Linked DNA regions of Homo sapiens: all the other regions are linked to region 2. The links are contacts of gene promoters, found by promoter capture Hi-C in blood cells and fetal thymus (Javierre and others, 2016). All regions are on one chromosome and are shown on one strand. Each heading gives the region's core, a stretch centred on a gene start or on the middle of the fragment in contact. The rest is flanking DNA. Distances are from core to core; before and after follow the strand shown. Region 1 holds the start of GPAT3 (glycerol-3-phosphate acyltransferase 3). Region 2 holds the start of CDS1 (CDP-diacylglycerol synthase 1). Region 3 overlaps ABRAXAS1 (abraxas 1, BRCA1 A complex subunit). Region 4 overlaps GPAT3 (glycerol-3-phosphate acyltransferase 3).

Region 1 (2,968 bases), core at 118-2,617, 1.0 Mb before region 2:
TTTTTTTTTTTTAGACTGAGTCTCACTCTGTCTCCCAGGCTGCAGTGCAGTGGCACGATCTCGGCTCACTGCAACCTCCTCCTCCCGGGTTCAAGTGATTCTCCTGCCTCAGCCTCCTGAGTAGCTGGGACTACAGGCGTGCGACACCACGCGGGGCTAATTTTTTTGTATTTTTAGTAGAGACGGGGGTTTCGCCATGTTGGCCAGGCTGGTGTTGAACTCCTAACCTCAGATGATCTGCCCGCCTCGCCTCCCAGAGTGCTGGGATTACAGGCGTGAGCCACCGCGCCCGGTCCATAACCTGGTTTTAATCATCAAGTTATAATTTTTTCCGTTCTTAGTGTGGGAGGGGGCTTGTGACAGCTACCTGGCAGTAAGTACTTAAGGCAGACATCTACATTCTTTACAGAGGGGCTTGTCACTTCGTTGGCTCCCCACTTCCTCCACACCCTGGGCAGGGACCATTTTCTCTGCAATATTTGCTATCAGCGCTGTTTCAATTCAGTTTGCTGGCCCTCTCAGTTTTTTTCCAGCTTGAAACAACACCTGAAAAGTACCTGTAAGAGATTTTGGTCGAATTCAGCGGCAATCTGGAAAATCCCTTCTCAAAATCCCTTCTGCTCATTCTTAAAAATAGTTCTGGTCTCTAAGAGAACAGCAATGTAGTAAATAACATACAGGGTTTTGCCCTTCGTTGCTCTGATAAGGGCTGGCGCGGTAGAAGCGCGGAGCCTGAACACCCAGGAGACACCTGTCAGCTTGGTGAATGAAGGCTTGCGCCGGCCTGGCATTTCTGCTACGCCTAAGCGCGGATAGTATTGGCTGAATGGTAGGGGAAGGTGTGGTTGGAATCTTCCCCCAGAAAGGGAGTGACAGATACTTAGCCGCAGGGTTTCTGTGCCAGGGAGATGGCGGCTCAGTGGGCTAGGCAACGCGTGGAGAGAGCTTCCTACTCTCGGGATAAGCAAGATTGAGCCCCACAGCTGTAGGCCATGTGGGGAAGGAGGTGTGGAAGCCAGAAGCGGCGTACACGGCTGCGTGGTGCGCTCTGCGTTTTCCTGTCCTTGGAAGCCCTTTCCAAGAGTTCGTTTTACACCCACACAAACAAGACCTCAAGCGTCCCAGATACGTCAGCAGTTCATTCTGCGGGTGAAGAAAATATTGACATTTTTCAGATGAAAACTCTCCTCCTGAAAGGACCTTTGCTGAGTGCTGGGGGAGGCGGGGCGCGGGGAAGAACGGAGACCGCCCAGGAGGCTGCGGCACTCCTGGGCTAAGTACTGCCAGGGAGCTCCCCCGTTGGGTGACGGAGGAGGTGGGGCGAGGGCAGCGCGCAGAAATAGGGCGCTGGGCGCCCGAGCGCAGCCAGCTTCCAGCACAGCCCGCGGCCCGGTGCCAGCTCCGCCGGCGACCGGTGTGCCAAAGTGCGGTGCTCCCGCAGGGAACCTGGCTCGGGGAGGGCCTCCGTGAGTCATCTGCTGAGTTGTCGCAATCGCCACCCAGAGGAAATCAGGCACCGGGCGGGGCGGGTTCCTGGCTGCGCTCGCGCGCTCTGCCCGCGCCGCGGTGTGCCTCCGCTTACCCGCAGCTCCGACCACTGGCTCGCGCTACCCAGGTCTCCGCACGCCGCGGTGGCTTCAGCCCAGACCTGGGCAGCCAGCGGAGAAAGAGTTAACTGGCAGGGGCGAGGAGGAGCCCAGGGAGGAAGGAAGGATATTGCCGTAATTCTGAAAGTTTTTTTCCTTCCTCTCTTCCCTTCGCAGAGGTGAGTGCCGGGCTCGGCGCTCTGCTCCTGGAGCTCCCGCGGGACTGCCTGGGGACAGGGACTGCTGTGGCGCTCGGCCCTCCACTGCGGACCTCTCCTGAGTGGGTGCGCCGAGTCATGGAGGGCGCAGAGCTGGCCGGGAAGATCCTTTCCACCTGGCTGACGCTGGTTCTCGGCTTCATCCTTTTACCTTCGGTCTTCGGAGTGTCTCTGGGCATCTCCGAGATCTACATGAAGATCCTAGTGAAAACTTTAGAGGTGAGTGCCGGGAGGGATGCAGCCAGCCCCACACCGCTGCGGGCTGAGAACCCGGGGGTCCAGTTCTCAAGGTCAGTGGTCGCGAGTCAGGGGTGTGTGTGCGCGCGTGTGCATGCGTGCGTGCATTTCTGTTCCTTGCCCGCAGCAGTGCGAAAGTCAGCATCTCGGCTTCTTTCGCGGAGCTGGAGGGATCTAGGCTGGAACCACTGGACCACTCTGTTGTTTCTCTGGTCGAAGGCGAAAAAATCATTCCACTCCCTGAGCATCGTTATTATTTTACTGATTAGAATAACAACAATGCGACCAACTTTTTGTATCAGAGGATTTGCTTATATCCATTATGCAGTGCAGTTTCCGCTTCACCCGCTTGTTTTTACAGCCCCAGGTTTCAGAGGTCCTTTTGTGTACTAAGGCATCCAGTTCAGAAAGGCATCATGTTCTTCTTTATGCCCAAGATAAGAGACCAATTGCTGGATGGCAGAAAGAAATCTTATTTTATTTTAGTGGAGTCATGGAAATTTTATCTAACCAACAGCACTTGAAATGCCATTGAAAAGGTATATATTCTTTGACCTCAGGTCTCCCTACCCTCCTGTTTCCAAATCCTGCAAAGAAAAATGTTAGATGGAAGTAGGCCTGGTAGAGAACAACTGCAGCTTACTCTTAGGGTTTTATTAAGTGTCAAAAGGCTGGGTAGGGTAGGGAGGGCAAGTGCCAACCCCCTTTTACAGAGAGGGAAACTGAGAGTCAGAGATCAGTGGTTTCTTTGAATTAAGTGTTAGAAGCAGGAGTCTTTTTTTAAAAAAAAATTTAATTATATGTATAATATGTGTGTGTGTGTGTGTGTGTGTGTGTGTGTGTGTATATTTAACATAAGAGACAGGGTCTTGCTATCTTGGCTAGGCTGGTCTTGAACTCCTGGCCTCAAGCAATCTTCCTGCCGTC
Region 2 (3,134 bases), core at 65-2,564:
TCTCTGTCATTTCAGTTATCCACCCCATAAGGAACAAATTATGGTTTCTCGACATCCTTTTGAAAACGTGCAACCCAAACTAACCGCACAGCTTCAAAGATCTGTTTGGTGAGGTAAAATGATGTCTTTGTGTTCTGCTTTTCAATGCATCCTAATTTGACTTTTGGTTTTGCTCATTTGTTAGTAAATTTTCAACACTTTACTTACTTTTACCGTGTCAGTAAAGACCTTGAGGAATTTACATAGTTGATCTATTTCTATAAGGGTGCTCTCCTGAACCTTGTCCTGTGTGAAGGCCCGCCTTTTTTCTTTTTTCTCTTTGTTTCTCTCTTTTTTTCATTTGTTAGCTTGTCAGTAATGACCGGGTGGCGGATACATGTCAAGAAAACTAATCACCTTCTAACAGGATTAAGACTAGAATTAATGCAGATCTTGTGCCCTTCCTGTTCCCGCTTTGGCAGCCCAAGGTCCACCACTGCTCAGAGACTAGCTGGAGGGCAACGGCGTCCCATAGCATCTCACACTGTGTTGGGATCCTAGGTGGTGACCTTTGTGAGATTCAGTACTGAGTTTCTGGGAGACGGCGCTGCGGTTGTGATCGGAATTGTTGGCCGACGCACCTCTGGACGCCCAGTGAGGCAAAAGCATCTCCTGTTTTCAAGGTGATGACACTGGGCTGGAATGCCGCGGGGCCAACCAGTCCGTCCTGCCAGACAAGTTTCTGGTCCAGTGAGCCTCCGACCCGCCGCGCGTGTCAAGCTGACAAGGCCGGGGAGGCGTTTGAAGCAGCAGTGTTGAGCGCTGTTAACATTTAGCGGGCGTCTTTGAGTAGCTCCTCCAGCCCTCGCAGCGGCCCAGGGACTAGCCTGCAAGTTCTCAACGCTCACTTCCAGCCCGCGCTGGCCCCGCCTCCGCCTCCCAGCTCCTCAGCCTCCTCCCGCCCCACCGCTCCCACCTTTTCTCAGGCCCCCACCTGCCAGCACGCAGAGGCGGGGGCGGGGTCGCGGGCCGGGCTCCTGACGTCACCTCACGGGGAGGCGGGGCTGTGGGAACCGCAGTGCAGCGCAGAGGGGCGGGGCCTGCGGCGCGAGACCTGGTGCGGGAGGCCCGGGCAGGGAGAAGTGTGCGGGGCCGGGACAAGCCGGCTCCGAGTCCGGCTCCGGGGGGCGGGGCGGGAGGGGCCTGCGCGGCGGCGGGAGCCCAGAGCCGCGCTAAAGCGGGTCAAGCGTCCTCCTTTTCTCCCCGCCCCTTCTCCTCCTCCTACCTGGGCCTCTGCGTGGAGACGCGCACCTGGCAACCGGAGGCCGCGTCTCCGCCTTCTCTGCTCGCGCCTGGCGCCCGGAGCCTGCCCGGGACCTCCGCCGGAGCCGCGCTCGCTGCAGGCGGCCTCGAGCGCTCTCTCGTTGATGCCGTTTTGGAGGTGACCGGCGCGGCGGCCGCTCTATGGTGGGGCCGCGTTAGTGGCTGCGGCTCCGCGGGACTCCAGGGCGCGGCTGCGAGGTGGCGGGGCGCCCCGCCTGCAGAACCCTGCTTGCAGCTCAGGTTTCGGGGTGCTTGAGGAGGCCGCCACGGCAGCGCGGGAGCGGAAGATGTTGGAGCTGAGGCACCGGGGAAGCTGCCCCGGCCCCAGGGAAGCGGTGTCGCCGCCACACCGCGAGGGAGAGGCGGCCGGCGGCGACCACGAAACCGAGAGCACCAGCGACAAAGTAAGTGGAGCCGAGAGAGGCGGACGCCGCGCCCTGGCTGGGTCCTGGTTGGAAGCGGGACACTTGAGAGCAAGGGTGGGGCCCGTCCAGCGTCAGGTGAGGCTGCACGCTGCCGGTGCACCTTCCTCCCTGCCTGGCACTGCTTCCTCCTTCTCCAGAGGGGGTCGGGACCCGGGATCCCAGTGGCGGTGAGGTTCCCAGGATGACCGCGGCCGCTGCCCGGGAGAAATGGGCCACTCAACCCGGCTTACAGTTTAGCTTCATCCTCTTCCGGTCCCTTCTTCAGGATCTGGGGCCGACGCTGGAATCAGGAGGGAACCTGTCCTCCTAGGGGCTGCAGTGCAGTTAGTAGCTGCCACCTCACCTCTCTTTTCAGTAGAGGGAACAAAGTTAGTAAGGACTAGAGACGTGCCACCGTCGGCTGTATCATTTCATCGGATCCTGACGCGGGAGGCTTGGCTTCTCGCGCTGCCCCATATGCACTTACATTTTCTCCATCCTTTTTCAGTATGATAGATTTTGGAGGTTTTAGAGTATCATGCACGTGACATAATAGTAATCTTCCAGCTTCTTTTGAGTACACGACAGACAGTGCAATTCTTCTGTCTACCAGTAGATTTCATATAACCCGACGTTAATTCATGAAGACTTTTCACTTCCTTTTCTATAGATTACTCTTCTTTCACATTTAAGAATAAGTAGATGCGATATTACTATCTGTTTAAAGCTAGAAAAGGAATTCGGGCGTGTTTGGTAATATAGTGGTGCAAGTAAGAACTTGTGAAGAAATGCAGTTTTATGATCTTATGGACTGGATGGTTTGGGAAATTGGACCAGAGAATAGATTGTTGTATCAAACCGTCTGTTTAGAAAATTCCATTTTATTTGAGAAACCCAAAACACGTAAACTGTTTCTAGAAGCATACTTTGGAAGCAGGCATTGCAGTTTGAATTACAGAAGTGAGGTGGATTGCCCAAGGTCAAGTTCGTGGCTCTTGAAACTAGAATCTAAGTTTCCTGATTCCTTTTCTTCTGGTTTATGTGGTTGCTGAGACTGGCTGGCAGTTCTGATTTGGGGAGGATTCCACCTGAAAGTTGATGTTGATGAGTTTGATGTAACCCAAATTACAAAGCCCTAATAGGAACATATCACATGATATCACGAAATAAACGTAAACGTGATTCTTAGTACTAAAACTTTAGAATCAATGGAATCAATGTAGTGACACTTTTCCCCTTACCCTTGATAGTAAGTAGAATAAAATGAGTCTGTAATAAAACATAAGTGTCAAGGAATTACCCAAAATATAACAATTTCCAGCTACTGAAGGTTGAAGTTACAAAACTAGGAACAGTGGGCTGAGAATAGTCTTTGTGAAAACTGCCTTGGAAACTAGACCCAAAATAGAATTAATTAGGTTGGGATTT
Region 3 (2,928 bases), core at 338-2,837, 1.1 Mb before region 2:
AAACTGTATTAGCATATGTATAAAACATGACAAAAGCCCAGTTTCCTTAAGTAATGTGATTACAAATCACTAAAAGCAAAACAGTACAAATGCAGCCAAAGAATAGGCCTATCCTTTTCAGAGAAAATGGCCAAGAAAAAAAGTAAAAAGTATCAAAAAAATACTTAACCTCTTTTGTAATTAAGAAATGCAAATTAAAATGCTATTTTTTTCACTTATCAAATTGGCAAAGATTAAAAGATTTGATAATACCTAGTGTTGGCAAGAGCATGGGGGCCGGGCATGGTGACTCACGCCTGTAATCCTAGCACTTTGGGAGGCCAGGGCGGGCAGATCACCTGAGGTCAGGTGTTTGAGACCAGCTTGGCCAAGATGGCAAAGCCCCATCTCTACTAAAAATACAAATATTGGCTGGGTGTGGTGGCAGTCGCCGGTAATCCCAGCTACTCGGGAGGCTGAGACAGGGATAATCACTTGAACCCGGGAAGCAGAGGTTGCAGTGAGCCGGAATCCCACCACTGCACTCCAGCCTGGGTGACAGAGTGAGACTCTGTTTCAAAAAAAAAAAAAAAAAAAGAGTATGGGGACCTAGGCACTTTTATATACTGTGGAGAAGCCTAAAATGGCATAAGTTTTCCAAAAGGCAATCAGCTAGTCTACCTCCAGGAGTGTGACTTTCAAATATACACTCAACAGCACAAAGAAATGTACAATACTAAATGTTCATGGTAATACTGTTTATGTTAACAAAAAAACCCAGAAAATCATTCTTAGATGGTTAAAAAAATTATGGTACGTCTATACAACAGGATATATGCAGCCAGCAGAAAGAATGATGGGCCGAGTATGGTGGCTCACCCCTGTAATCCAAACACTTTGTAATGACAGGAGGATTGCTTGAGCCTAGGAGTTTGAGACCAGCCTGGGCAACAAAGTGAGAACCTGTCTCTACAAACAATAAAAAATTAGCCAGGCGTGGTGGTGCATACCTATGGTCCCAGCAATACAGGAGGCTGAGGCAGGAGGATTGCTTAAGCCCAGGAGGTCAAGGCTGCAGTGACCAGTGTTTGTGCCACTACACTCCAGCCTGGCTGAAAGAGCAAGACCTCATCTCAAAAAAAAAAAAAACAAAGAGTGATGAATTATACACACAGATACTATTCTGTACTTGTGATATCTTGGGAGATATTAGGCACATATAGTAAGATCCCATTTGTGTAAATAAAAAGTATACACATTTGGCCGGGCATGGTGGCTCACGCCTGCAATCCCAGCACTTTGGGAGGCCGAGGTGAGAGGATCACTTGAGGTCAGGAGTTCGAGACCAGCCTGGCCAACATGGTGAAACCCCATCTCTACTAAAAATACAAAAAAAATTAGCCGGGCATGGTTGCGTGTGCCTGTAATCCCAGCTACTCCGGAGGCCGAGGCAGGAGAATCGCTTGACCTCGAGAGGCAGAGGTTGCAGTGAGCCGAGATCATGCCACTTCACTCCAGTCTGGGCGACAGAATGAGACTCCATCTCAAAACAAAAACAAAATGTATATATACACATATATATACACACACACATTTACATTTGTGTGTTTTATGAATATTGCAAGCTAGTAAGAATCCATGAAATAGTAGTTGCCACTAAGGAAACTAATGAGAGTTTAAATTTTTTATTTCCTACTTTATATATTTCTATTTTTAAACTTGTAAAGTAGCAAACAAAAATAACATACAGTATGAGTACAAACTGATATAATCTTTCCGGAAAGCAATCTGCTAATGCAGATCAAAAACCTTACAAGTGTTCATACCCTGTGACACAGTAATACCATATCTAGGAATCTATAATAGATAACGCCAAATATTGATATACAAGGATATTCACTGTAGTATACTTTATGATAATGAAAAACTAGAAACAGCTGATTATAACATATTTAAAGGAATGTTTAAATCACAGTAAGGCCACAGGGTAGAACACAATGCAGTTATGAAAAATAGTATTGTAGGCCAGGCATGGTGGCTCACGCCTGTCATCCCAGCACTTTGAAAGACCGAGGCGAGTGGATCACTTGAAGTCAGGAGTTCAAGGCAAGCCTCGCCAACATAATGAAACCCCATCTCTAATAAAAATACAAAAAGTTAGCCGGGCGTGGCAGCACACGTCTGTAATCCCAGCTACTTGGGAGGCTGAAGCAGGAGAATCGCTTGAACCTGGGAGGCGGAGGTTGCAGTGAGCCGGGATTGCGCCACTGCACTCCAGCCTGGGCAACAGAGTGAGACTCTGCCTCAAAAAAAAAAAGAAAAGAAATGAAAAATAATATTGTAGAGGATTATGCAACATTGTAAAGTGATCATGACACAATATGATGCCAAACCTTTTATAAAGTACACTACCAATTTTGTTTAAAAATACATACACATATATAGAGAAAAACTATATTAGACAATCAGAAAACTCCCTATACATTTTATTTCTTTTAACCATTTTTTTCCCTATGCATTTTAAAGGTTCTCCCCTGCTTTTCCCTAAAAGAGAAGCTGCCACCAGTTATAACTGCTTTAGCACCCACTCCTCAAACCCTTTACAGCCTGGTCTCTTCCCCATTACGCTCCAGAAATTACTGAGGATTTTCAGTCATCTAATAATCTAATTACTGCATTTTCTCAGTTCTCATCTTCCAACTTTTCTGCAGCATTTAACATTTTATCTTTTTCCTTGGTCTTCCTATTGCCGGGCCATCTTCCTACTAAACAGCAGGTGTTTCATCCTTGTTTCCCTGGCAGTAATCTTATCTGCTTCCTAAGTCTCATACTATTTCTTACTTTAGACCAGTCCATGGTCATAATTTTAACTGCAAAATGAGTACAACATATCCTTTTAAATTATTTTAAAATTAATATATATTTCTTATTTTTCTTTTTTTGAGACAG
Region 4 (2,993 bases), core at 469-2,968, 1.0 Mb before region 2:
TTTGTCTGTTCTACTCAAAAGCCCCTGTTACCACTTTCTACTACTGTCTTACTATGCCTTCCTTACTAGCTCCTCTGGTCCATACTTTCTGATTCTCCTCTTGATGTTTAAGGTGACTCCTCTTCTACACATGGAATGGAATGGAAGCTCCCTCTTTTTTTTTTTTTTTTTTTTGAGATGGAGTCTTGCTGTGTCACCTAGGCTGGAGTTCAGTGGCGTGATCTCGGATCACTGCAACCTTTGCCTCCCGGGTTCAAGTGATTCTCCAGCCTCAGCCTCCTGAGTAGCCAGGACTATAGGTGTACGCCACCATGCCCGGCTAATTTTTATATTTTTAGTAGAGACTGGGTTTTGCCATGTTGGCCAGGTTGTTCTCAAACTCCTGACCTCAGGTGATCCACCTGCCTTGGCCTCCCAAAGTGCTGGGATTACAGGTGTGAGCCACTGCGCCTGGCCTCCTCTTCTGAGAGTTGGCTTTGTCACTGTGACATAATAAGAAATATGTATTAGACTTCTGCTCCCTCTCCCTTTCCTGTCACATAGGTCCTAAAACCTTTGGCATCTCTGCAGTGATAAGTGATAGTGTCTTTGTGTATGCTGATGAGATGACTGGTGGCTGGGAGCTCCTGGATAGATAGCCTCAGGATGGTGGCTGATTGCCAGGGGAGCCAAACATGTGATTACAGGGTTGGAACTTTCAGCTCCCCTCCATATTGCTCCCCAAAGGGCAATGATTAAATCGATCATTTAATCATTTTATGGAAGCTGATGTCATGAAGCTTCCATAAAAACTAAAAAATACAGGGTTTAGAGAACTTTCAGATTGTTGAACACATCCAGGTGCCTGGTGGGAGGTGCACCCCAGCTTCATGGGAACAGAGGCTTCTGTGCTAGGGACCCTTCTGAACCTTGTCGTCAGTGCAGTATTCATCTGGCTGTTCATTTGTGTGCTTTAAAATATCCTTTGTAATACATCAGCACTAGTAAGTAAAGTGTTTCCCTGAGTTCTGTGAGCCATTCTAGCAAATGACTGAACCTGAGGAAGGGACTATGGGAACGCTCAATTTATAGCTGGTAGATCAGAAGTACCAAAGGCTTGGACTTGCAATTGGCACCTGAAGTGGAGGCGGTCTTGTAGAACTGAGCCCTTCATTTGTGGAATTTGACTCTAACTCCAGGTAGATAGTGTCAAAATTTAATTGAATTATGGGACATCTAGCTGGTGTCGAAGAATTGTTTGGTGTGGGAGAAAAACCCACACATCTGGGGTCACAGGAGTGTTCTGTGTTTTGGTGAGAGTATAGTAGAAGAAAAGTCAGTTTGTTTTTTTCTTATTATATAGTCACTTACCAGGAAGCTCCTAACAGTTTGTCCTTATCAATGAAATTTTTGAAGAAACAAATCTATTAAGAATATTTAGCATTACAATCAAAGATACCATACATAAATGCCAAACCACAAGGCTGACATTTTAAGTGAATTAATGGTTCATTTGACAGTGGAGTTTTATGAATGCTTCTGTGCTGTGGGATTTCTTGTTTAATCAAGTTAGCTGTATCCAAATCAACAGAGTTAATGTGGGCTGCCAGCCAAGATGTAGGTCAAGAGTGGGTTGTTAAAATGTTAGTCGTTAAAATGAAACTCTGTTAAGACCATTCTGGCCAACATGGTGGAACCCTGTCTTGACTAAAATACAAAAAAATAGCCGGATATGGTGGTGCACAGCTGTAATCCCAGCTACTTGGGAGGCTTAGGTATGAGAATCACTTCAATCCAGGAGGTGGAGGTTGCAGTGAGTTGAGATTGCACCACTGCACTCCAGCCTGGGTGACACAGTGAGACTCAGTCTCAAGAAAAAAAAAAAAGAAAAAGAAACAAACAAAAAAGGGAACTCTGCCTGTTATTCTCAACGCTATTTTTTTTTCAGTGCTAACTGACAATTGATTAGTGTCCTCAGCTCCACCCCATCCCCATTTATGCATCAAAACTCACAGTTAATTATGTGGCTAATATTTATATTTGGGGTTAAAATTTTCCTATTTTATAATCAGCATTGATTATTTTGTAAGTTTTTGGAGAACTACTGGAATATGCAATGATGAAAAAAGAACTAGATTTTCTCATCTACGGTTCTCAAAAAAAAAAAAAAGTAAATCTATTGCTTCTAGCCTAGTATTTGTCTTAGTCCACTCAGGCTGCTATAACAAAATACCATAGAGTGGGTGGCTTATAAACAACAAACACTGATTTTTCACAGTTCCGGAGGCTGGAAAGCCCAAGATCAAGGCCCAGCTTCCTGGTTTGTACAGGGCTGTCCTTTTGCTGTAACCTCACATGATGACAGGAGTGAGGGATCTTTTTAGGACCTTTCTTATAAGGGCAATAGTCCCATTCATGAGGGCTCCACCCTCATGATCTAATTACCTCCCAGAGGTCCCACCTCCAAATACTCTGACATTGGGGATTAGGTTTCAACACACTAGTCTTGGCAGATGCAAAGATTTAGTCTATGGCAGTACATTTAACTTGGTTTTGGTAACTGAGAGATGCTAGCAGAAAATTACTCAGTTATAAAAAAGGGGAGGGGTACAAATTATTCTATTACAAATGTGCAAACCATGTAGCAATCGGAGTATTGAAGTTACCTTTATTTTAGTAAAGCTTTTGATTCTATTCTAATCCCAAATAACAGGGTCAGCAAATCCATTCTGTCTGTTCCCTTGCCATCATCCTGGCAGACATCACTAGTTGATGAAGTTTGACTCTAACTTAGGGGTATCCAGTCTTTTGGCTTCCCTAGGCCACATTGGAAGAAGCATTGTCTTGGGCCACACATAAAATACACTAACACTAACAATAGCTGATGAGCTTAAAAAAAAATTGCAAAAAAATTTCATAATGTTTTAATGTTGAATGTGGCCCAACACACATTTATATGCAGCCCACAGGCCATGGGTTGGACAAGATGCCCTAAACCATGATATGTCCTCAGA

What was found. Contacts are between HindIII fragments. The CHiCAGO score rates a contact against its expected background, and 5 or more counts as called.
Region 1: a contact is called between the fragment with the promoter of GPAT3 here and the fragment with the promoter of CDS1 in region 2, in 2 of 17 cell types (M0 macrophages and M2 macrophages). The highest score is 6.8, in M0 macrophages.
Region 3: a contact is called between a fragment that was not itself captured here and the fragment with the promoter of CDS1 in region 2, in 2 of 17 cell types (non-activated CD4 T cells and activated CD4 T cells). The highest score is 6.2, in non-activated CD4 T cells.
Region 4: a contact is called between a fragment that was not itself captured here and the fragment with the promoter of CDS1 in region 2, in 3 of 17 cell types (M0 macrophages, M2 macrophages and M1 macrophages). The highest score is 6.9, in M0 macrophages.

What each region holds. Positions count from the first base shown.
Region 1 is chr4:83,534,741-83,537,708 of GRCh38, forward strand. It overlaps GPAT3 (glycerol-3-phosphate acyltransferase 3), which reads left to right and starts at 1,368. Exons shown (of 12, transcript NM_032717.5): 1 at 1,368-2,023. The coding sequence starts at 1,883. The HindIII fragment of the contact is 15,854 bases long and covers 1-2,968 here.
Region 2 is chr4:84,581,813-84,584,946 of GRCh38, forward strand. CDS1 (CDP-diacylglycerol synthase 1) reads left to right here and starts at 1,315. Exons shown (of 13, transcript NM_001263.4): 1 at 1,315-1,706. The coding sequence starts at 1,590. It overlaps LOC102723338 (a long non-coding RNA gene), which reads right to left and starts at 409. Exons shown (of 8, transcript XR_007058460.1): 1 at 1-409. RefSeq lists silencers at 922-1,131, 1,172-1,271 and an enhancer at 1,108-2,061. The HindIII fragment of the contact is 8,586 bases long and covers 1-3,134 here.
Region 3 is chr4:83,478,847-83,481,774 of GRCh38, forward strand. All of the region lies in intron 2 of ABRAXAS1 (abraxas 1, BRCA1 A complex subunit), which reads right to left. Among named protein-coding and RNA genes, the nearest start is that of ABRAXAS1, 4.8 kb to the right of the region's middle. The HindIII fragment of the contact is 5,215 bases long and covers 1-2,928 here.
Region 4 is chr4:83,554,648-83,557,640 of GRCh38, forward strand. The region is part of intron 2 of GPAT3 (glycerol-3-phosphate acyltransferase 3); the gene reads left to right. Among named protein-coding and RNA genes, the nearest start is that of GPAT3, 20 kb to the left of the region's middle. The HindIII fragment of the contact is 1,882 bases long and covers 778-2,659 here.